Linked DNA regions of Homo sapiens: regions 1, 3 and 4 are each linked to region 2. Evidence: promoter capture Hi-C in 16 types of primary human blood cells and fetal thymus (Javierre and others, 2016). All regions are on one chromosome and are shown on one strand. The core of a region is centred on a gene start or on the middle of the fragment in contact, and the rest is flanking DNA. Distances in the headings are between cores, read along the strand shown.

Region 1 (5,872 bases), core at 1,718-4,217, 230 kb after region 2:
GGGTCTTTCAGCTTATGTAAATATCTCTCTTATCTGCTGACAAAGAATGAAACAAAGACCATCTGAGGCAAAAGAAACACAAGTAAAAACCACTGAAGCTGGTTACTAACTTGTCAGGCAAGGGAGCACAACCAGTGTTTCCCCTTGTAGGGGGAAGTCAGGGTTGTTTAAGGGCTAGAAAGGAGACACTGGTGATGGTTATGCTAAGCACTGAAAACTAGTGCTCCAGATAGAAAGGAACTGGTTAAAACAATCCTCACTCTTCACAGGGGTTAGAAAACAGTCTTCTGTTTGGTCCAATGTGGGTCTGGTATCTGGGGTCCTTCACAGTGCAAGGTTCTTAAACATCTGCAGTTGGTTAGAACTGTCGTAGTGAAAACAAGCATTCCTTTTTGATACCTCATAGGCAAGTGCTGTTAAGTAGAACATTTCCTTTTACACTGCATGACACTTAACGCAAATATTTCCACACTGGGTCGGACCAAGGGTTCACAGTGATAGAGTCACACAAGTACAGTGACAGCCCCTCACTCCAGACATTGATAAGAGCACGTTAAATATCACTATGGTTTTGTGAGCCGGAGAAATGTCACTCTCACTACACTACATTCTGTCTTCTTTCCATCCTTGTTCCATTCACCCTCTGTAGGTGACCAGTCTCTTTCATTTCTGGTTTATCCTTACTGCATTTCTTTTGCACAAATGTGCAGATACATGTACACTTTCTCATGTCCTCTTCTTTCTTCTATGAAGAGCTGTTTACTGTAGACACTCTTGGGCTTTGCTTACTTCACTGAACACTATGTCCTGGAATTCACTCCATATTCATTCATACAGCTCTTCCTCAATTCTTTTTTATAACTGCACACTGCTTCATCTTATTGATGTGCCATGATTTATTCAACCACTAAATACTGGACGTTTAGGTGTTTCCAATATTTTGCAATGAGAAACAATGCTGCAATGAATAACCTTGTGCATATGTGTTTTATTATCATCAGAAGTGCGTTTTCGGAGTGGATCCCTAGAAGTGGGATTGCTGGGTCAAAAGGTAAGTGCATATGTAGTTTTGTTTTGCCAAACTTTCCTCCAGAAGGGTTGCACCAATTTGCATTCCCACCAGGAATGTATAGGAGGTCTGCTTCCCCAGAGTCTTGGCCAACAGAATGTGCTGTCACATTATTTAATGTTTGTCAGTCTGACAGGTGAGAAGTGATTTCTTAGTGTTGTCCTAATTTGCATTTCTCTAATTATGAGTGAGTTTGAACATTACTTTTTATGTTTGAGGATCATTTTTTATATCTTGTTTTTTAGTGAATTGTCTGCTTCTGTCTCTTTCCCATTTTTCTATTTGGATCTTTTGCCTGTCCATTTTTAAGAGTTCCCTGTATTTGGGATATTAAATCCTTGCGGTATATGTTATGAATATGTTCTTCCAGATGGTCCCCTGTCTTTTGACTTTGTGGTGATTTAAAAATTTCAAAAATTTTATGTGGTAAGATTTATCAACCTTTTTTTACCTCTGGAGTCTGAGTCATAGTTAGAAAGCTATTTCTTACACAAAGCTTAAGGAAAAATTCACTCTTGTTTTCCTCTGATACTTTTATGGTTTTATTTTTCACATTTAGATCCCTAATCCATTCAGAGTTATTCTTTTGGGAGTTTTGGGATATTAATCTAATTTTATCTTTCTCTAAATAGCTATCCAGTTGCCCCATCAACATTTTCTTAAATTGCAGTGATTTGAGATGCCAACTTTATCATATAATTTCCATACATGTTTGGGTCTAATTTTGGACTGTCTCTTCTATTGCACTGCCCAATTGTCTATTCAGGCACTAGTACCATACTATTTTAATTATAGAGGCTTTATTGTATGTTTTAATGTCTGGTAGGACTATTCGTTGTATTTTTTCTTGGCTATTCTTGAAGGTATGTTTTTCCACAGGAACTTTGATAGTACCAACTTATCTGACTCCATAAAATAGCTTGATAATATTTTTATTAGGATTGCATTGAATTTGTAAATTAACTTCAGGAGAACTGACATCTCCTGAAGTTACAATGTTGAGTTATCCTCCCAAGAACAAAGGATGTTTTCTCATTTGTTTAAACCTACTTTTGTGTCTTTCAGGACTGTTTTCAAATTTTCCTCATATATACTTGTACTTTGTGTACTCATTAAAATTATTCCTAAGTATTTAATCCTGTTTTTACTATTGTAAATGTGGCTTTCTCTACCATTATAGCCTCTGTTTATTGTTTATGTATATGAAGGCTATTGATTTTCATATATTAACCTGAATTATTTGTTTCCGTTTTATCACTGATTCACTAGGCTTTTCCAGGTGTAATATTATATAATCTGAAAACAGAGACAGTTTTCCTTTTTCTTTGTGCATTCTTTTGCCTCTAATTTCTCTTGTTTAGTTGTATGGGATAATATGTCTATTATAATTGTGAATAGTAGTAGAGATAGTGGGCATTATTGCCTTGTTTCTGATCTTAGTGGAAATGTCTCAGGGCTTTCTCCATTAAATATCACCTTTTGGACTAAGATATAACATGCACGCACACACATTTATCATATTAAGTAATTATCCCTCAATTATTGTTTAGCATTTTTGCAAATCTCTTTAATGCCTTGGTTAATAATGGACAGCTGGATTCTAATATCTGCTCTGCACTCAATCTGCTACAATATGTTGTTTTAGTTGAGGCATATGAAGAAAATATGGCCTCACACAGATATGGAAAAGAGAGAAAAAGGGGAAGCTTTTTCAGAATACTGAGTATATTCTCCTTTGGTATTTTTCCAAATCTTGACAAGTGTTAGTTTCTTAAAGGCTAATTGTAATATAAAATCCAAAACTATATGAATGAATTTTTCATACTGTCATATTGTAATATTCAATACAATATTAAAATAGGCTAGTTTGTCTAACACTTTAGATAGATCTTTTACCCATCACATAATTTTACATACTATGTATTGGTCATTTGGAAAATACTAGTTCACCGTATTATACAGACCTTCTAAATGTTGACACATTGCATTATACAACATTAAAAAAAACTGCACTTGTTAATACCACCATGTATCTCATCAGAAACATCTCTAGATACTGGTCAAAATTATGGTGACAGATACAAGCTTTCCAAAACTCAAATTTTTATTAGAAAATCTGAATTTTACCACTGACAACAAATACTGTCAATTGTTTTCCTTGAAGTGACAAGTTCAATTTTTTTTGAGAAAATATCTGCTAAATACATAAGTTATAATAACCACCATTTGTTTGTTAGTCATTCTTTCAAGCAAAAACTATGTTCCATGGAAAAAACACCTAGTTCAGCTCACAGCCCAAAGGAAGCATACATGCTTTCCCCTGACACAATCCCTGTGCTTTGGTATGCTGCAGAAGTTGCTTTATGCAAGTTTTCCATCCGGGGCTTAATACAACTCATAATTTTTACTGCCTCTTCAGGGACATTCTTAAGTGAAGCCGGCATTTAAACATTTTTAAATTATTTTTTAATTGCAAGTGTGTAGTGATAAAGAATACAATGACCACCAGGACAGCTTGGTATCACTGCTTTGATTCACGCTAAGGCCCAGCAAGTTTACCCACCAATGCTTTTTACGCCATCAGCGCAAATGTTGACACACAGAAAGCAGCAAATAACATCTCAGTGTTATTATGAGAATAGTTTTAACTTTGTGTGCCCTTGAAGACGTTTCAGGGACTCCCAGGGTCCATGGACCACACCTTGATAACTGTTGCTGCTCTATGCATTGCCATTCCCCAGAGTTTTATACCTCATCTTGTCTCTTTTTATATCATTTTTCCATTGCCTCTATTTCTTTCTTTCCGTTTATTGTTTTGTTTTGTTTGGTTTTTTTTTTTGAGATGGAGTTTCACTCTGTCGCCCAGGCTGGAGTGCAATGGCGTGATCTCGGCTCACTGCAACTTCCACCTCCCGAGTTCAAGCGATTCTCCTGCCTCAGCCTCCTGAGTAGCTGGGATTACAGGCGCCTGCCACCGCACATGGCTAATTTTTGTATTTTTAGTAGAGACGGGGTTTCACCATCTTGGCCAGGCTGGTCTTGAACTCCTGGCCTCATGATCCACCTGCCTCAGCCTCCCAAGGTGCTGGGATTATAGGCATGAGCCACCGCGCCCAGCCATTGCCTCTATTTCTAACCATACATTTATGAGACCCAAGACTATGTCTCTAGTCGAGATGTTCCTTTGCAGTTCCAGATCTTGCCTTCACTTACCTACTGAAAATGTCTACCTCAGTCTCACAGGTCTTTCAAAATCGTGCCCAAATCTCTCTACCAAAACATCCTCCTCTTTCTGCTCTCCATGGAAAAGACCACTAGTGACATACATCATTTACATTCTCTCCTTCCATGCTAAGGAACCTTGATTTATTCAGAGCGGCAATGTGCCTGCTCCATTAGAGTTAGAGGTGTTCAACTGACATGGCTCTGGCCTATCAGATGGATGCAGAAGTCATGAGCATGGCTTTTGGGAACACTCCTTTCCATATGAAACATAGATATGACCGGGGAGTGCTAGCAGCCATCTCGAAAGGCAGGAAAGCCAGGGTCACACAATAACGATTGTGGAGTGAAAGCTGAGAGAAGGAGTCCTTGCTTACATCACAGAATCATTGTACTAACTCTAGATTGTCTACCTTTGGATATAAAATAGATTTATTTAAGGCCCTGATATTTGGGATTTTCTGTTATACGCAGCAAAACTCAATCACTTACTGGTATACATTCTAATCTCTATTAGAAGCAGCACTACCAGCAGTAACATCTGTCACTTAATTAGACTGACCAGCAGCCAAACCTACGTCTTACTTGAAAGAAATCCTCCTTTATGAGTGATCATGGTGGAAGACGGTATACTAGCTTCCACTCTGGAAGTCAAAGAAGCTAGATTTTACCTCCCTGTATCCTTCCGGGGTGAAGGGATGGTTCAAATTCATCAGCAGAACAAAGCACAGTGTCCTGAGCAGGCTGCTGCTACTAACAGATATTCCCTGGGCTTCATGCTTCTTTAACCCATGGAAGCTGCCTAGGTTTCTGTTCATTTTCCAAAGCTGGCCCCCTTTGAATGATGGGACTCATTAACATTTATCTAAGAATTCTCTTTTTGCTAATGACATCTAGAGTTGTCTTCTGTTATGTATTAGTGACTGCATATCTCAGGTTAGAAATCTTAGCATCATCCTGCACTATTCCTTCCTCTCACCAGTTGCATATCAATGGACACCAAACCTGTCTGCTTCGACTTCAGTTAGCTCTCCAATCATCTCCTCTCTACCCTGTCGTCTATATCACTCCTAGAAGTTGGCCACACCATTCCTCTGCAGGGAATAAACACAAATCAAAAGTCTTCATTCCAGCACACATGGCTTTTCATGACATTTACCATGTACCTACAGTTCCTCCAAACACCAAATACCAGTCAGGACTCACATGAACAGCACACATGTGCCTTTAAGGATGTCCAGTTTCTTGCCCCTCAGGAATTTAAAGAGCCCTGCCCTCTTTCAAGAGGACCAGGTGATTCTAGAATGATGAGTTGGGCTGGGCAGCAGCACACTCAGCTGACTAAAGAGCTAGCTCTGAAAGCACAGAAATAACTTACAGTAGGAGCCCCAAAGCAATAAGGAAGAAGGTGTTCTCCTGCTCAGTAGATGGACAAGGGTTACTGCCCCAAGGTCTGAGATGAAGGAAGATAGGATTCCACATGGCAATGGAGTTTCAGGGTAGGAGGTGTCCTTAGAAGACACTGAGCCCAACACCCTCATGAGACTTCAATCCCATGTCCATCTATTGCTGCTTGAACTC
Region 2 (5,431 bases), core at 2,497-4,996:
ATTCACCCCTTTCACTCTGCTGGCCTTCCCCACTGAATGCCACTCTTGCCATTTGCTCTGTCTGTCCTGAGGACTCAGATACTGTTGCAATAGGCAGAATGCCACAGGACTGATGAAGAGCTCGTTTCTACCACTTTACATGACAGTTCCTCCCCTCATTGGCCTTCACTCCAAGAGTGTCCTGTAGTTCAATAGTTTTCTTACCAGAAAGCCATGGGTATGCTGGAAACTGGAATCTGCATGGGAGTCCACAGAAGACAGCCAGGAATTCAAGGTCATCCAAGGCCCCATGTCCTCCTGCTCTGTTCATGTCACCAGCAGTCTCATAGAAAGATTCTGAGCATCTGTAGCATGTATTCTTCAGCTCCAATCCTTTTAGACGGAAGAAGCTAAGATTCCTTCTGAGCTATTAAGAGCAGAAGGAGGAGAAGAATAAAAATCTAAGAGCACCAGAATGTAAAACTGACAGGGATAAAAACACTCACATGCACGCACACACACACACTTTTGTGGGGGGAGAAAACTCTAACTGGAAGACTGGGTACTATACAATTCCATTCTCCAAACTTCTGTGGTGTGTCATGTATTAGTGATGTCTACCAGACAGAACCCTGAAATGCAGAGCTGGAAGGGACCCTCCAGTCCAGCTGGGATCAAATAAGTGCTCACTGCTCTGGGCAGAGCAAGTATCTTGGTCAGAATCTCACACCTAAGCAAGGCTCAAGCATGAAGTAAGGTGCTTCCTGCTTGGCAATGACCACTCAGTGAACCCCTGGGCAAAGTTCCACTCCATAAAGCTAACCCCTACTTCATCCTGGAGTGATCTAGAAACCAGGCCTTAGAGGCCACTCTCCATCAATACCCAAGAGTACTTCACTTGCAGAAAGACAACAAAGCCACTTAGAAGACCTTGCATTCTTGTGAGAGAACAATCAGGAAAAATTGATCATCTGAACCAGAGGGCTGTGAGAGTATTTTGAAAACAACTTACTTTTATCTTTCCTCCAAGTAGTGTAGGTAGGGGAAAACAGTTGACCGATTTTTATCACATAAAAGTTCTTCCATTTGTCTTTAAATAAGAATTTTTTTTTCATTGTGATCAACTCCAGCATTTTCATCAATTCCATCAACAAGTTCTCGGATGCAAAAATAAAGTGAAGATGGAGTCCCTATCAAACAGTTACTAGGTTAAGAGAGAGGGCAAAGGGATGGTGAACATAATTCAAAAGAAATGCACAACTGTCTTTAAAATATACCTGTAATTGCTACCATTTAAAACGATTTCTCTATGCTCAGCACTGGATTAAATGCTTTACATTGTACCAATTACTGTAATTCTCATAGCAACCCTGCAAGATGGCATTGCGTTATTCCCAGTTTACATATCAGCAAACAGGCACAAAACATTTGAGCAACTTTCCCAAAGTCACAGATGCTGTCTCAAAATTTTTTTTTATAAGAGGTGTTTACTTGTTTTTACTCTCCGTCGGCCTTTGTCAGTCACACACAAAAAAAGCAGACCTGCGTTTCTTGTAATTTTAAAATAAAGGAAGATACACACTTCAGTATGGGTGGAAATGACAAAAAGAGCCCCATCCAGTGTCGTTTCTTACCAGAGAAGGGAGATCTTTAATTTGGTGCACAGATTAAACCCTACAGGTTTTTCCACCCTGTTTCAAGTGACCAACTTGAAAAGTCATCTACTGGGCTAAAAAGGAGCCTTTGGAAATTGCTTTAAGAAAGTCATGGGCTTTGAACAAAACTATTAGGATCAGAAAACCGCATAGTTGCTTTTGCAAATGCATCCGATTGCCTTCTCTATAAATTTGCTCTATTTGATTTCTTCTCCATTCTATCATTAATCGTAAAACTAATATATCCTCCCAATCCCATATGTACTAAATAAATAATTTAATTTGATGGAACACATGAACTTGTGCCCTACACAGAAAACAGTTTGAGCTGGATCCCTAATTATGTCTGGCGTAATTGTATCTGGCATTATCTCACTGCCTGGGTCGGATTCTCAGGGGCCATACTTTCCTAACAGCTCTGAGGGGTCTCCGTGGTGTCATAGAAAAGCCAGAGAACCACAGAGTGCCCCCGGGAGGTCCTGCAGAACTGCCGGCTCAGCTAGGACCTGGTCACAAACCACAGACTCCTGAGGGCTGGGCTGCCTCCTGAGTGGTAATACCGAGGGCCCCAGCGGACTCTCAGTCCCTTTCCTCTTTCCCAGCGCCCCAACGCCTTGGGTCTGGGAAGAAAGCGCACGACTTCCCCGGAGACCCAGGGCCACAGACCCCGAGTGGAGGAAGTGGCTGGGAGCTGTCCATGGTGGCGTCGCGCCTGGGCACGCAGAGCCGCCGGCTCCCCGCCCTCGGGCGCGCCCTGGATCACTTTCCAGACCGCAGGGATGGAGAGACGCGCTCCCCGGCTCACCGTCCCTGGTATGGGGCTGCAGCCAGGCACTGGCTCACACATCAGAAGATTAGTTTTTAAAGGGAGCTCTCACCTGTGGGTAGCGTTGGCTGCTTGGAGAAGGACTCAGGACCTCAAACCCGGCAGCTGGCGGAACTCCTGGGACTGCCGTAGCGTCCGACCCTTGGGGAACAGCGGCTGTCGCAGAGAGTGTCTGCGGCTGAGGACCCAGGGCGCACAGCGCTCCTCTCTCATGAGCACACGCATCCCTTGGGGTCCATTCCAGAATGTCACTGGCCTTCGTTCCCAGAGCGGCGAGCTGGAGACCTGGCCAGCGTTCTGCCAGGACTCTCTGCCTTTCCTCACAACCTAACGCGACCTTTCTTGGAGCCGACGTCCTTTGCCAGGGACCACCAGACCTTCTTCCAGCGATGCCACGTTTGGAGTCTCAGTCTAAACATCAGCAGAGCCCCCCGGGTTCATCTAACATTGCAATTGCCTCAGCTCGGCCCCGCGCCAGCGCGTCGCTGGGTGCCTAGCGCTGTCCCGGAGGCACTGGGAGGCGAGGGAAACTGGGAGGAAGAGCGTGCTGAGGCAGGAGCAGCAGGGCGCAGACCTGTTGCTAGGCGCACGCCCGCTAGAGCTCGGCGTGAGCTGGCTCCCAGTCGGCAGGACACCGAGACCTGACCCTTGTGGTACTCCCTCCTCGGCGAGACACTCTCCCGGGCGCAAGCCCCCGGTGCCATTCAGAAGGGGGAAAATCTACGGAAAGCAGGAGTCTGCCCCCTCTGGATGCCCTCTGGGGACTCCAGCGCCCCCCGGCACCTGCAGCTTGTAAAGCATCACAAGATCTCAGAGAAATCCCACAGAGGACAGTGCCAAGAGCGTGTGCCCATCAACAGACGCATGGACAAACAGACAGATAGAGGTAGACTGCACAGCACAGGGTGGACAGACAAACAGAAACTGAGGCGGGTAACGTTTACCCTGTGCCGGGTGGAGGCGCGGGCCCCCACTTCTTACCTCTCTTCCGTGGCATGGGCCGTCAGCTCATCCCTGACGCCCCCAGCCAGGCCCTCTTACCTCTGGGTCTGTAGCCGAGACAGTGTCACGCCTCGCGGGCCAGGAGCGCAGCGGCCCCGGACGTCTGGTCGCTGACCGCCAGGCGCCGCGAGCTCCCGGGGCGTGGGCAAGCGGAGTGGTAGCTAGTCTGGGAAATCTGGGTTCAGACCCTGGCCGCGCTCAGCCCCGCTGGCTCCCCGCGCCGCTTGCGCTCGCCAGGCTCTGTCCGATAGCACCGCGCTGGGCTCTGCTTGAGCGCTAGCTCCCCGGCCCTCAGCCGAGAGGCCGCTTTTATAGCCACTTTTACTGACTCCTCCCCCGAGGAGCCCCTGACGCCCGCGCGGCACCGAAGCTCCCTCCCTCGCCCCCCGATGAAACTTCCCTCCACGCGCCCCCGCCTTGCCCAAGTGGGGCGGGGGCCCTGTGCCCGGGCCGGACCGGGGCGGGCTCTGGCGGCGGCTCTGGGAGACGCAGACCTGAGCCCGCGGAGCCCGGGTGCGCAGAGTCCCGCCCGCAGCAGCCAGGTGAGGGCGCTGGAGGCCAGGACTCGGTGGAGCGGCCGCGGCGGACCGCGGAGAGCAAGTCCCCGGGCCTCCAAGGAGCCAGGGTCGCCCGTGCCCCGCTCGCGCCCCGGGGCGCCCTCCGAGGCAAAGAGGCAGTGGAGGACAGGAGAAAAGGTCTGCGCCTGCCACAGAATCGCCGCGAGTCGGGGTCCCAGGCTAAGTCTCAGGATCTCTTTTTAACTCAGCAGCAAAAGAGTAGCCCGAGAAAGAGATTTTGGTATTGGCCTAGCAGTTAATCCGAGAGGAAGATGCTTGGGTGTTCACTGAAAGGCACCTTGGTTTGAAACTGGATTCAGACATGCCAGTTACAACTGTGTACAGGATCTTAACCCCTCCCAGTCTCAGTTTCCTCATCAGGAAAATGGGTTCTGTGATGCTTCCTCACTAGAATGGTGAGGCTTAAATGAGATCAGGAAAGTCCAAGTTCTAAGCACATAATAGGTGCTTGGTAAGTTAGAAACATTCCCTGTGGGTAGGAGGGCTCTGTGCCTCTTTAACTGGACAGGCCAAAGTTCTGAAGGGTCAAAGCAAGAAGGTGCGGCTGGTCTAGACATTCCCTCGCGGGAGGAAACAGTACCAGTAGGAAAAGTTCATCACAACACATCCCTAGGGCATATGGAGTCTCCTCTCAACTCTGCCGCTAACCTACTGTGTGACCAGGGCCAGCTACTTCCCCTGTCTGAGCCTCAGGGTGGTTTTTTTGCAGGGAGGTGAGGAGTGTTTGTTTTTCTTGTTTTGTTTTAATCTGTAAAATGAGGGCGTTGATACCTGCTCTCTGCCTCTTCCACCTTTCAGAGTGTGACTCAGCCCCCTTTCCTGGTTAGCAGAGGCCTCCTAGAATATACATTTCTTTCTTCCTTCCTGCCAGTGTTCTCTGAGAACCAGCTCCTCAGGCAAGGTCTCCATTCTGTGTAGTACACACTAGCTCCGGGACTCTAGGTCTGGACTTTAAGGCCAGGCTGTGGTCGGCAGAAGCTGTGGAAGTCTGTGATCACATCTGGGCTGAAGCAGAAGCCTTTGTCACCTGGTTAAACTGGGAAGTCCTGCAATCCACCTCTAGGCCTCTTCCAGAAAGCGGAACTTGATCCTTACTGGGGGTGGTGGTCAGGATTCTCAGCCCTTCTTTGATTTATTGGGAAGTAATGAACTGGATCCAATGGCAAGCCCTCCTCCCCAACCTTTTCTTTCCAGCCGAATAAAATGGAGCCCCCCCGACCCAGGGCCCCTCTCCCCAGTCCTCACCATGATTCCTGTTTATGTTTTTCTTCCTTAAGGAGCTCCCAGAAACCAGACCCACAAAGAGTTGTGTGTTAGGGGTTTGGGGGTGCTGGGCATTTGGCCCAAATGGAGAAAGGTCGACCTTGAATCAGCCTGGCTTGGCACGACAT
Region 3 (5,931 bases), core at 134-2,633, 210 kb after region 2:
TAAAATAATCAAAATAAATGTAAATTAAAACACCTTTGAAGTATAATTTTTCAACTGCTAAGTTGGTAAAAATATGTTTCACATGGTGGCTTTGCATTGAAACTACCATGGTCACACGGTGTTGGGGAAGTGTGCATGGCACGACCTTTTCGGAAAACTATGGTGACCCAGATGAGGGACTGTGGACTTGCTCACACGCTCCCAGGTGGTCATCCTGCTGCTGAGCTGTAGTAAGGAAATTATTCAGTGGAAGGAAGTAAGAGCTACCCATGCAAAGTTGGCTGTAATCAGGAGTGACTTTGTAAATCCTGAATATTAATTTCCTGAGTGACTATTCCACAGCACTGACAGCAACCACTGTGAAGATCGTCTGGAAACACAGGAAGGTATGATGAAAGGTGTGGAAAAGTTCAAGTGCAGCACAATATATTATGCACGCTGCAATTATGGCCACAAACTATGTGGGTGAGCAAAATTTAACACCAAGAAAAACAATCTCTCAAGTGTCTGCATTAATTAGGAAGGTTATGGATTTCCTTTGTTTACGTCCACTGTCTATTTTGAAACAAGAAGGATCACAGTGGGTCTCCTCTGACACGTTCGTGGTCCCACTTTTTTCACCCATGGCTGTGTCCTGGACTGGGTGGTGGGGAACCCCATGGAGGAACTGCCCACAGGCCACCTCCCCTCATCTGGGTCTGGGATGCAAGGAGGGCTGGCTAGATATTCTGTGGGTAGGAAGAGAGGGGAGGGTGGGAGAGGAAGCCTTTGTTATCTAGGATGAGGAAGTGGCTGGTGGGGAGGAGCAGGTGTGGAAGGTAGACCAGCTTCCTGGGGAGGAACCACCAGGAATGCATGGCTGGAACACTGTAACAAAACTGTAAACAAACTGTAACAAAAACTGTAACAAAATTGTAACTATCAGCAAAAGCACAGGCTTGGTGAGAATCTGGAGGCCCCCATCCAGGAGAAGGTGGTGTGTGGCCACCGTGGAAGGAAGGCAGAGGTAACACCTGCACCCGCCCCTGTGCATTTGCCCTGGCCCCCTGCTAGGTGCCTGCATTCATCCTAACTCACCTTAGGCTCACAGTCACCTTGGAAATAGGTTTGTTTTTTTTTTTAATTCCCTTTCCGCATGAGGAAACTGAGGCCCAGAGATGCTAGAGGTTTGCAGAAAATAGATGGCACCCTCAAAAGGGATGATTAAAGAAGGTTTAGGGAAGGGGCTACTTAACAGGTGTGGCCATAAATGGACAGGTGTTTACATTATCTCATCCAATCCTCACACTAAGCTTTCAGAGTGGTTACTTCACCCCCATATTAAAGTTAAGAAACTGAAGTTCAAAGAGGTTAAGTGGTTGTCAAAGTTGGCCAACTGGCAAGTGGCTATCACAGAACAGAGCCAAGGACTGACCTGATACTTCTGATTTCAAGGTGCTTTGCTGTCTGCCCCATTTGGGAAAGGAAAAGCTTTCATAGTTGTTATACTAGGATGGTGAAGAGCCCCTAGGCTAGCAACAACAGGAAGCCATGACCATCCCTAGGGCCAAAGGGACAGGGGGAGTGAGCAGCTATCAGACCTGTGAGAGCCGTGGTGAGCAAGGCTGCCTAATACCTTTTACTCTTCCACTCTTGTTCCTTTGTTTCCAGCCAGTCCCTCCACTGGCCAAACTTAACCAGGACAGAGATCAAGGGATCCCATTTGGCCCTTTCCACAATGGTTAACTTCAATCTTCCTCCCAGGCAAACAGGCAAGGCAGAGGGTGCACCAACTGTGTGTGGTAGAAACACAATCACCAGGCTGGTAAGTGGTGAAGACTGAGCAAGACTAGATTTTCTCATTCCAAGTGTAGGCTGTTTGGATTACACAAAAGATGCATTGCTATTTACCAACTCTCCTCAGCTCCTAAGAAGCAAATGCACACAAGTGATCTGGTCCACAGCTCCTCTGATAACAGCAACCCCCAGTACATCATTTCTTTTGACAGGCAACTGGTCAGTCTCTGCTTGACTTTCTCTGCTAGAGAGCTCACTACGTTTTGGGGCAGCCTGATCCATTTGCAGACAGAAATACTTATAAAAAGCCTGACCCCTAAGGAGCTGAAATGTACCTCCCTATAACTTTCATCTGGGGAACAACTTCTGCCCCTGGAGAAACACAAAATAAGTTGGATTCTGTTTCTAAACTCTTTTACTCGGCATTATAAAATATGTATGATCTGAACGCCATTTCCTCCTCTGGCCATGCCGTCTGTGCTGATGGCCCTGGTGTGTGTGTGTCCCCACCATAAGGGAAGGCCTCCTTGAAGGGAACCCCAGTTGGAGGACCCTGAGAACATTCTGTTTCGAATTCAGCCCAGAAGAGTCATTCATTCAGTGAACTGTACGGAACTCTTTTGCCAGGCACCGGGGACAGACTGATTGCTCAGAACCCACAAGATCCCTGCCCTCATGGAACTGACAGTCTCCAGGGAAAGACAGGCGTGGGCAAGCAATTACAGTGTGGTGAGTTAAGATGACGCCTCAGGAAGAACAAGGTTCTATCCAAGGGTACAGTCTGCCTCCTAATGTCGGTGTGGGAGCCCAGATAAAAGGAAAAGGATAAAACCAAAAGCATGTGATCTCCCACCAGGCAGTCTCAGCCCACACTTGTTAGACCAGCAAAGTGGGAGCACTAGAAATAATTTTCCAAACAAATTGATATTTCAGAAATTGAAAAATGAATCAGTATAATCAATAGAAAAAAAAAGCATTACTTTCTCTACTCTCTTATTCTTACTTTATGGCTTTTGTTATGTTTTGCTTTGATTCACACCTTGGGGGCACCGTCACCTTCCACTTAATGTAGGACTGATGGCCAGCACTTTGTCAATATTTTCACATCTCTGCAGTATCCTCATTTTAGAGATAAAGCAACTGAGACATATGAGGAAAGTGTAGATGTAAGTGTCCAGGGTGTGAACTATGGGTCCAGAGTAACAGTTAGAATGTAAATGATGCATCCAGGGCGACATGGCTAGAATGTAATTGATGTGTAAAGGGTACATCCGGGTGACATGGCAAGAATATGGAACACATATGACTCAAACCCAAGTCTGTCTGGCTGTTGGCCTTGCGGTCTTTTTACTCTGGCCTAGGCTGCTGCCCCAGCCCAAGAGAAATACCCATGGCTATAACAAGGACAATTATTCCATGTCTCCCATTCTAGTACCTTGGGCATCTTGAGCCACAGGAAAGAGAAAAATCTGTTCCTTGGGACTTTTGTGGGGTTGAAGCAGTGAACTCCCCATGATGGCAGCAATCCATGAACCATTCTCTGGCCCAGGCCCAGAATCTCAGAGACAGGACAGGGACCACTGTGCGCAGTTGTGTAGCTGTGCCCCGGATGCCTGGCCAAGGGGCGAAGTGGGGCACAAACCTGGCCCTCTCCACTCACACACCTTGGTGCAGGTCTGTGTTTGGGGAAGGCCCATGTTTCTAATGTGGATAAAGGCTGTGATAAGGGTTCTTGGTATTAGGCCGGGGGTTTGCTTTCAGTTCTGTTCCTCTTTGGGCTCCTAGACCAGAAAAAGCTCCTTTCACTGGGAAGCAGAAAAATTAGGTCGCAGGTATGGCTGGCAAATCCCCAGGACCCTAACTGCTCTGGCTCTGTGGTCGGAACATCAGCATCTCCATCCCACAACCTTTGGGTTTCTGCTTCCATAGCTGAGCATGTGTGGAAGAGAAAGTGCTGACCTGCAGGCTGCCCCATCCTGAGAAGAGCCCTGGGGAGTTTTCTCAGACATTTCACGGCAATGGTATAAAAATAAACCTCGGTGTGCTTGCAAATTCCAGAGAAGGAGAAAGCAGGGCTGCTCAGGAGAAAACTGACTGACAGCACATGCGAGGGAAGTGGGTTCCTACCACAGCCAGTGCTGCCCTCCATTAGCTGGGCTACAACGGCTGAGGAGTAGAAAGTGAATGCATCAAGTGCGGCTTCCTGCCGGCGAGGTGCAGGAGTCCGGGCAGATGCTGTCAATTTTCCCTGATGCTCCCTGGACAGGGGTTTTTACTCAGCCTGAGTAAGTGAGCAAGAAGCCATGAAGCGGGCATTCTGAGGTAGCTGGAATCATGTCCCTGGGAGTAACTGGAAGCACACTGGGAGGCGTCTGGGGATGGAGGCTAATAATATCCACCCTGACTGAGCACCATCTGCATGCCTATTGTGAAGGACTCGAAATACTTGTTACAGGGTTTGGAATTGATTCGATCAGGGCAGGGAGCAGCACGGTCCAGTCAAGCATGTGTGTGCACGCGCGTGTGTGTGCGCGTGTGTGTGTGTTAGAGCTCACTTCCTGGGCCACGTGGACTGGCTCAGCAGGGGCCTGATGGAAGGCAGGGGAGATGGTCAGGAAGACCGATGATCACTTGTGAGACGGCAAAGGCCTCAACTGAGGCAAGGCCAAAGAGGCAGAGGAGGAGATGCGCTAGAGAGAATCGCAGGTAGAACCTGTGGGGCTCTGGTTCTGTGCCAGGTTGCCTGTTGAGGTGAATGAGAGGGAGGGATCCAGGATAGCTCCCAGATCTGGGGCTTGGTGACTGGCTGTTTCAGCCCCTTACTGCCTCTACGCTCTGCAGAGACCAGGAAAGCAGCCTTCCTTTGACTTCATTTGTACCCACCCCTATGCTCCACTGCCTGCCTAGGACCAACCAGGTGGCCACTGCTAAGCATGACGAAGGAGACGTGATGGTGAGTCAGCTCGAGAGAGACTCCGTCATGATTCTGGGCATTCTGGGGTTTTAAAAACACATGCACACACACACACATACACGAGCACGACCAACAGGTGTGGTTATGACAACGTTGGAACAATGCTGTGACAGGAAATAGGACTTGGCCTGAACAGACACAAAGAGATAACTTCAGATCACTCCCCTAAAAAGATGTCAGAAATGAAGAAAGCACAGCAGCTAGGTCGTGCCCATGTAAAAACGCTGAAATGACTCAAGCTAACAAACAGCCCCAAATGAGTCTTGGCCCCCCAGTGCCAAGGCACGTTTCAAAGTTGTGCTGTGTGACCAGCACGTTAAATCAGTCTGTGTTTTTCTGGACCTCATTCCATATTTGATGGAACAGGAAAAAAAGCAAGGATGATAAAGAGGTCTTCTTTGTAGTGGCTTTACACAAATGTTCAACATTAAACACTCAGTTTCTCCAGGAAGTTTCTTTTGGATGCTTTTGACTGAAAGCAACCGAGCTTGCAAATTGCCCACACTCCACCCTCGCCATCCCCTCCCCTCAGCACAGAGCATTTAAGGATCTTTCCATAACAAGTCTGCCTACTGCTGGCAAAGTTTCGCCTCACAAATTCAAAAAAGAGCTGGCCAGTTCACATCCCTGATTGTCACTGCCCTCTACCGTCCACAGTAGACTTTTCCAACCAACTTCACCAGTGTAGGACCTTTCAGTTCAGAGACACAGATTGAGGCTTCTGGTGTAACTGTGCCCTGAGGGGGCATCCTGATCCGTGTAACCTCACAAGCTGCAAAAGCAGTTGTCTGGAGGAACTACGTAGGCCACCCCCTGTACAAGATGGCTTTTCTGTTTTCTCAGTGCTGCCTGACTTTCAGAAAAATAAAGCAAAACCTCAGCCAGGGGGCTGGTTTTCACAGGGGGATCTTTACTTTTCTTGCAAACCCCACTGCAGTGCTACCTCCTGGGGATGCTTTCTCCGAGGCCCTGCGGGGAAGTATTTATTCTCTGCCCCCATTGCATTCTACCTGTCCCTCCCGTCTGCCCCTTCTTACGTTCTTGGAGCTCAAGAACGTTATGGGAGCTCAAGTCTTAGCCTGGAGTGGCTGGAGCAAGGGGCCATGACAGGAGGTATGAGCCTGGGACAAAGCTATGGCTTGAACAGATGCTAAGCAGATCCAGGCTGGCATTTAAAGCTA
Region 4 (5,886 bases), core at 2,465-4,964, 180 kb after region 2:
GGAACTTCACCTCAGATCCCATTAGGTTGAGACCATCATGAGGGGATTTTCATCCATCTGTTATACATATAAAGGCATATGCCTTTTTTTCTTGGAGAAATACACAAGATAAATGAATAAATGCATATGTAAATAATTTCACGTAAATGCAATGTTATTATACGTAACACATTTATTTTAAGTTTTGCTTACTTTCTCTGCTTCTACAATCCCTCCAAATACAGCTTATTAATGTGAATATGGTATTTTATACATTTTTTTTTTCTGAGACAAGGTGTCATTCTGTCACCTAGACTCTAGAGTGCTGTGGCATGATTATGGCTTATTGCAGCCTCAAACTCCAGGGCTCAAGTGATCCTCCTACCTCAACCTCCTGAGTAGCTAAGATTACTAGGTATGTGCCACCACACCTGGCTAATTAATTTTTTTTTTTTTTGTAGAGACAGGGTCTTGCAATGTTGCCCAGGCTGAATACTTTATACATTTTCTACATGTACATATGTATGTATATATACAACCATGTACTCACACATGAACCTAACTAATGTGCTTTTGGTCATGTTTGCTTTATCAACATAGATTAATTTCATTTATAATTTTCTGATTATTTATTTTATTTATTAATATATTGAAATAATGCTATCTGATAGTTCATGAAGTAGGTATTCTCCAATGTATTCATCCATTCTTCTATCAGTGAGCTTTGCCTTAATTTACAGTTTTCCACCCCTACAAAATAAGGTGGCAATAAATATTTCTATAAATATATCTGTATTCAACATTCTTATTTCGCTAAGACAGATTATTAGAGATGGGATAGTTGAGTCAAAGATACAGTTTTATTTAATAGATATTGTCACGTCACTCTCAAAATGAATTGCAAAAATTTCTATTTTTACCAAAAATAACTAAGACAATCCTTTCACATTCATTCCCACTTTTGCCAGTCCATTGGGGTGAAAAATGTCATGCCATTGTTACTTTAATTTGCATTTCTTTGACTAGTTGTGAGATTTAAGTGTCTGCTTTCTGAGTTCTGTTTAATTATTAAATATTTCCATTATACATCATTTTGAGAAAAGTATTATAGAATTTTACGTGCTCATTACCGAAATGAAACAGCTGTTTAACATTTTGCCATAATTGCCTCAGCTACTTTTCTGTTCCTTTTTAGTCAATACCTCTTTTTTTTTCTCTTTCTTAATCTGTTTTAAGGAATTGAATCATACAAGTCATTCTATGTCTTTCTTCTAAGGATAAACATTATCCAGAATTGTTTTTAGCATCAATGAGGTTATTTTTCTTTTCTTTCTTTGACCAATTATCTATTTATTTACAAAATATGTTAATATGTTGAGTTATAAAAATATGCACAGCAGTTAAATTCAATGTTATATTTTTAGAATTTTTGCATCTGCAACAAGGTATTTAAGTGCTGCGATATATTCCTTTGTGTACCTAAATCACAATTTATTCATTTCTCTACTAAAGGATAGATTATTTTCTTCCACTTTTTCACTCTTACACACAGAGCAATAAATATCTTTTTATCTGTCTTCTTGTGTATATGTGAGACGTTTTGTAGAACAGACAGTTGGAATTAGAATCACTGTCATGGGTTTGTACATCTTTGACATTCCAATATGCTGTTGGAAAAATGGTACTGATAAATGTCATCTTTTTCAGAGCAAGTATGCTATTTTCCACTAGCTAGGAAATAGAATTCCTGTCTCCCCATATCCTCAGTAACAATCATGTTATCAGACGTAGTAAATCTGAGCGACATAAGCATTTATTTTGTTTTAATTTTGCCTTTCCCTTAATTACAATGAAGTTCAGCGTCTTCTAATAGATTTAATGCCATCTGATTTTCTATGAACTCACAACTCAAATTCTTTGACCATTTTTCTATTGAGTTCTATTTTTTTAAATTGACTTTTAGGAATCTTTCATTTATTCTGAATACTACATTTTTGGGTATACAAATTGCAAATATTTTCTACCAGTTAATGGACTGTTACATTTTTTGAGGCTGATTTTTTAAATTGAGTTAAACTTTATCAATATTTTACTTCATTGTTTGTTGTCTTTGTGCCGGGTTTAAGAAATCCTTCCAAGACTTGATTTTTAAAATATATTCTCCTAGATTTTTTCTAAATGTTTTACATATATTGCCTTTAGCCTTGCGATGTTTTCATCTGTGTAGAGTTTATTTTTTCTATAGGGTGTGAGATGAGAGTATGAAGATTTCTTTTCCTACATTCTTTCCTCGAGCACCATCTATTGGAAGTCTAGCTGGTCCCTGTGATTTGTAATGCTGACTCTTCCAAGCTTCTTTCTGAATGTCTGTGGATTTCTAGGTTCTTTGTTGTGTTCTGTGATCTACTTTTCCATCTCCATGCTAACCTTACACTTTTTTTTTTTTTTTAGAGAAAGGGGGTCTCACTCTGTCACTCAGTCAGGAGTGCAGTGGTGTGATCATAGCTCACTGTAGCCTCGAACTCCTGGGCTCAAGCCATTCATCTCTTTTTTGTAGGGATGGGGCCTCACCATGATGTTGGTTTTGAACTCCTGGGCTCAAGGGATCCTTACCTCTCAGCTTCCCAAAGTGCTGGGATTAGAGGTGTGAGCCACCATGCCTGGCCCAACCCCACACTTCTAATGATAAAGCTTCCCACTGTCCGGTGGGATAAAGGCTGGCTCTTTTTTCTCCTTTTCTTCCTCTTTCTCCCTCTTTCTTTTCTTTTTTAGATCTTATTCAACAAAATTTACTGCCTATCATTTTTTCTTCCATAGGAAATTTGAAATCAACTTGACAAATTCCACAAGAAACTGCTGTGATTATTTTTACATCAACTTTATTTAGAGACAACCTATGCACAACAGAATTTAATGTACCCATCTTAAATGAAGGGTTTGATGAGTTTTGTGATTTGTATACACCTTTGTGACCATCACACAAGAAAGATATAGAACCTTTTCATCATCTCACAAACTTCCCTTGTGCCTCCTCCCACTTACTCCTCCGGCCAGCAACCAACGATCTGCTTTCTGATTGGATAAGTCTTATCTAGAGTTTCATATAAGTGCAATCATTGTGTATGTTTGTGCCTGGCATTTTTTGCTCTGCATAATGTTTTCGAGCTCTGTTTATGCTGTTGATTGTATCTGTGCTTTGTTCCTTTTTATTGCTGGGTAGTATTCCACTGTGTGGTGGTACCACAATTTGTTTATCCACTCACCTACTGATGGACATTTAGGTTGTTTTTCCCTCATGGCTATTACATATGAAACTGCAATGAATATTCCTATTCAAGTCTTTGTTTGGAAATATGTTTTTATTTCTCCTGGGCAAATAGCTAGGTATGAAAAAGCTAGGTCATAAGATGAGTGGATGATTAACTTCCTAAGAAACTGTTACTCAAAGTGGCTGTACCATTTTGCCTTTATGAGGGTTCTAGTTGCTCCATATCCTGGGCAACACTTGCTATCATCAGTCTTTTTACATTTTAGCCAAATATTAGAGTCACTGTATATTTTATTTTCCATTTCCTTGATGACTAATGATGGTAATCAGTTTTTTCCACATGCTTATTTGCCATCTGTATATTTTCTGTGGTGACGTGCCTGTTCAGATTTTTTGCCTGTTTTGTACTGAGTCATTTGTTTTATTCCATTGTAAGAGTTCTTCACATATTCTAGGTACTAGTCCTTTGTCAGATACATGACTTGTGAATGTTTTCTCCCATCAGTGGCTTATCTTTTCATGCTCTTAGCAGTGTCTTTTGAAAAGCAAATGCCTTTAATATTTATGTAGTCTAATTTGTCAATTTATTCTTTGATGGATCATGCTTTTGGTGTAGTATCTAAGAAGTCTATATTTAACTCAGGGTCACAGAATTTTATGTATACTTTAAATACGTGCAGTCTACTTTATGTCAATAATAGATCAATAAAGCTGTAAAAACTAGCAATGCTAGGTGTTTGATGGAAGAGTTTTAAAACAATTTTAGTCTGCCATTTTGCTAGAATCCAAAAAGTTCTCTTTTGGCAGAGGAACAATAGAATTTGTAAGTACAGTTGACCCTTGAACATCATGGGGGTTAGGGACGCCTACTCTTCATGCAGTTGAAAGTCCATGTATAAATTTTGACTCCCCTAAAACTTAACAACTAATAATCTACCGTTGACCAGAATATAGATAACATAAAACAGTTAATTAACACATATTTTAGATGTGTTATATACTGTATTCTTACAGTTAAGTAAGCTAGAGAAAAGAAAATGTTAAGAAAATCATAAGGAAGAGACAGTATATTTACTATTCATTAAGTGGAAGTGGCTCTTCACAAAGGTCTCCATCCTTGTCATCTTCACGTTGAGTAGGCTGAGGAGGAGGAGGAAGAGGAGGTCTTCCTGTCTCAGGGCTGGCAGAGGTGGATGGAAGAAAATCCACGTGTAAGTGGACCTACACAGTTCAAACCCATGTTGTTCAAGAGTCAATTGTATTTACTAGAGGCATCAGCATATTAAAACACTAACAATTTTGTAAGGATTAAAAAATAATAAGAAGAATGTTTGAATAGGACAATATATACAGGGTTTTGGACTGAGACCTGAGTTCAATATCCTGGTTCTGCCATTTCCTTCCTGTATTTTCTTAACTTCTCTGAGTTCCAGTTTCTCCATCTGTAAACCAGGGAGAGTAACCACATATCAGATTTGTATTAACAAAAATAGCATTTGTAAGGAAGCTTCTAGAGAGCCTTGCCTAACACAGACGGTCAAGAATTGTGTTTCCTTTTATTATTTGTTTATTTATTTTCTGTTGGTTCTAATGCAATATGACTGATATGCTAGCTTCCTTTGTTTGTTTTGTTTTGAGACAGGGTCTTGCTTTGTTGCTCAAGCTGTTCTCAAACCCCTGGGCTCCAGTGATCTTCCCACCTCAGCCTCCCAAAGTGCTGGGATTACAGGCCTGAGCCACTGTGCCCAGCCCTAGTTTCCTTTTCTATCCTAAGAAGCTAAACCTCCAAAAGGGTCACTCTTTAGTATAATGTACGCCACATCCTTTACAGATTATGACACAATACAGCCCATAGGAGGGAGTGTAATGCAAAGGGCAGGTTTCAAGGATGGTTCAATTACAAACTTGGCCTGGGCCATTTGTTGTTCAGAGCAAAGTCATTTTTATTGTAATGAAATTTTAAAAGGCAGTTACATTAGTTACACATATACACAACCGACTTAATAACTGTTAGTCATAGAGAACATTCAAGAAATACAAATGATTTATCCACAGCACAGTTCACATCCATAAGAAGAAAGAGAAATGGTTAAGTACTTAAACTGTCCACTGACACCTGCTTATGAAATCTTTTCCTTTCTTTCTTTTTTTAAAGGAAACTGAGATTGTTAGATGAAGCAAGCCGTCCTGCTCCCGCACAGCCTGTGAAACCTCCATTTTGCCACTTTCAAGGTCAGTGCCCCACAGACCCTGGCCTGTTGTTGACCATAACACTAGCTTTGGCCACAAAAGCCAGGGACACCTACGCTTGGAAATGTGCCTGCACCACTGTGTGGTGCCTCCTTAAGTTGCCCCAGACTCCAGATGGTCAAAGAAAAGGTGAATGTCCAGGTGGCTCATGGCTCCTTAGTATGGGGTGTTTGGTGGGGAATGACCCCGGCAGGTTAGGAGACAGCGACTTAGGCCAAGCCCATATTTTCTGGTAATATAAAGGACACTTCTATTCTGACTTGTTATTCCTAGAGCTGTTCCGGTCACTGGCTTCTTCCTGTTTATGTGGTAGGTCAGAACCGTGACGGAGCAAGGTGAGCGTTCACATTCTCGCATAGCTTATGGGCTGCCTAAAGTGCTGCCGGGAG

What was found. Contacts are between HindIII fragments. The CHiCAGO score rates a contact against its expected background, and 5 or more counts as called.
Region 1: a fragment that was not itself captured here is called in contact with the fragment with the promoter of CEMIP in region 2 in 1 of 17 cell types (endothelial precursors); the score reaches 6.0 in endothelial precursors.
Region 3: a contact is called between a fragment that was not itself captured here and the fragment with the promoter of CEMIP in region 2, in 8 of 17 cell types (M1 macrophages, megakaryocytes, M0 macrophages and 5 more). The highest score is 14.2, in M1 macrophages.
Region 4: a fragment that was not itself captured here is called in contact with the fragment with the promoter of CEMIP in region 2 in 1 of 17 cell types (M1 macrophages); the score reaches 5.0 in M1 macrophages.

What each region holds. Positions count from the first base shown.
Region 1 is chr15:80,544,999-80,550,870 of GRCh38, reverse strand. All of the region lies in intron 8 of ARNT2 (aryl hydrocarbon receptor nuclear translocator 2), which reads right to left. Among named protein-coding and RNA genes, the nearest start is that of ARNT2-AS3, 15 kb to the left of the region's middle. The HindIII fragment of the contact is 379 bases long and covers 2,778-3,156 here.
Region 2 is chr15:80,777,685-80,783,115 of GRCh38, reverse strand. CEMIP (cell migration inducing hyaluronidase 1) reads right to left here and starts at 3,746. Exons shown (of 30, transcript NM_001293298.2): 1 at 3,502-3,746. RefSeq lists an enhancer at 2,719-3,224 and a silencer at 3,845-4,124. The HindIII fragment of the contact is 7,653 bases long and covers 1-5,431 here.
Region 3 is chr15:80,567,314-80,573,244 of GRCh38, reverse strand. All of the region lies in intron 12 of ARNT2 (aryl hydrocarbon receptor nuclear translocator 2), which reads right to left. Among named protein-coding and RNA genes, the nearest start is that of ARNT2-AS3, 7.3 kb to the right of the region's middle. The HindIII fragment of the contact is 178 bases long and covers 1,295-1,472 here.
Region 4 is chr15:80,597,217-80,603,102 of GRCh38, reverse strand. ARNT2 (aryl hydrocarbon receptor nuclear translocator 2) reads right to left here. Exons shown (of 19, transcript NM_014862.4): 19 at 5,170-5,886. Among named protein-coding and RNA genes, the nearest start is that of ARNT2-AS1, 16 kb to the right of the region's middle. The HindIII fragment of the contact is 2,084 bases long and covers 2,673-4,756 here.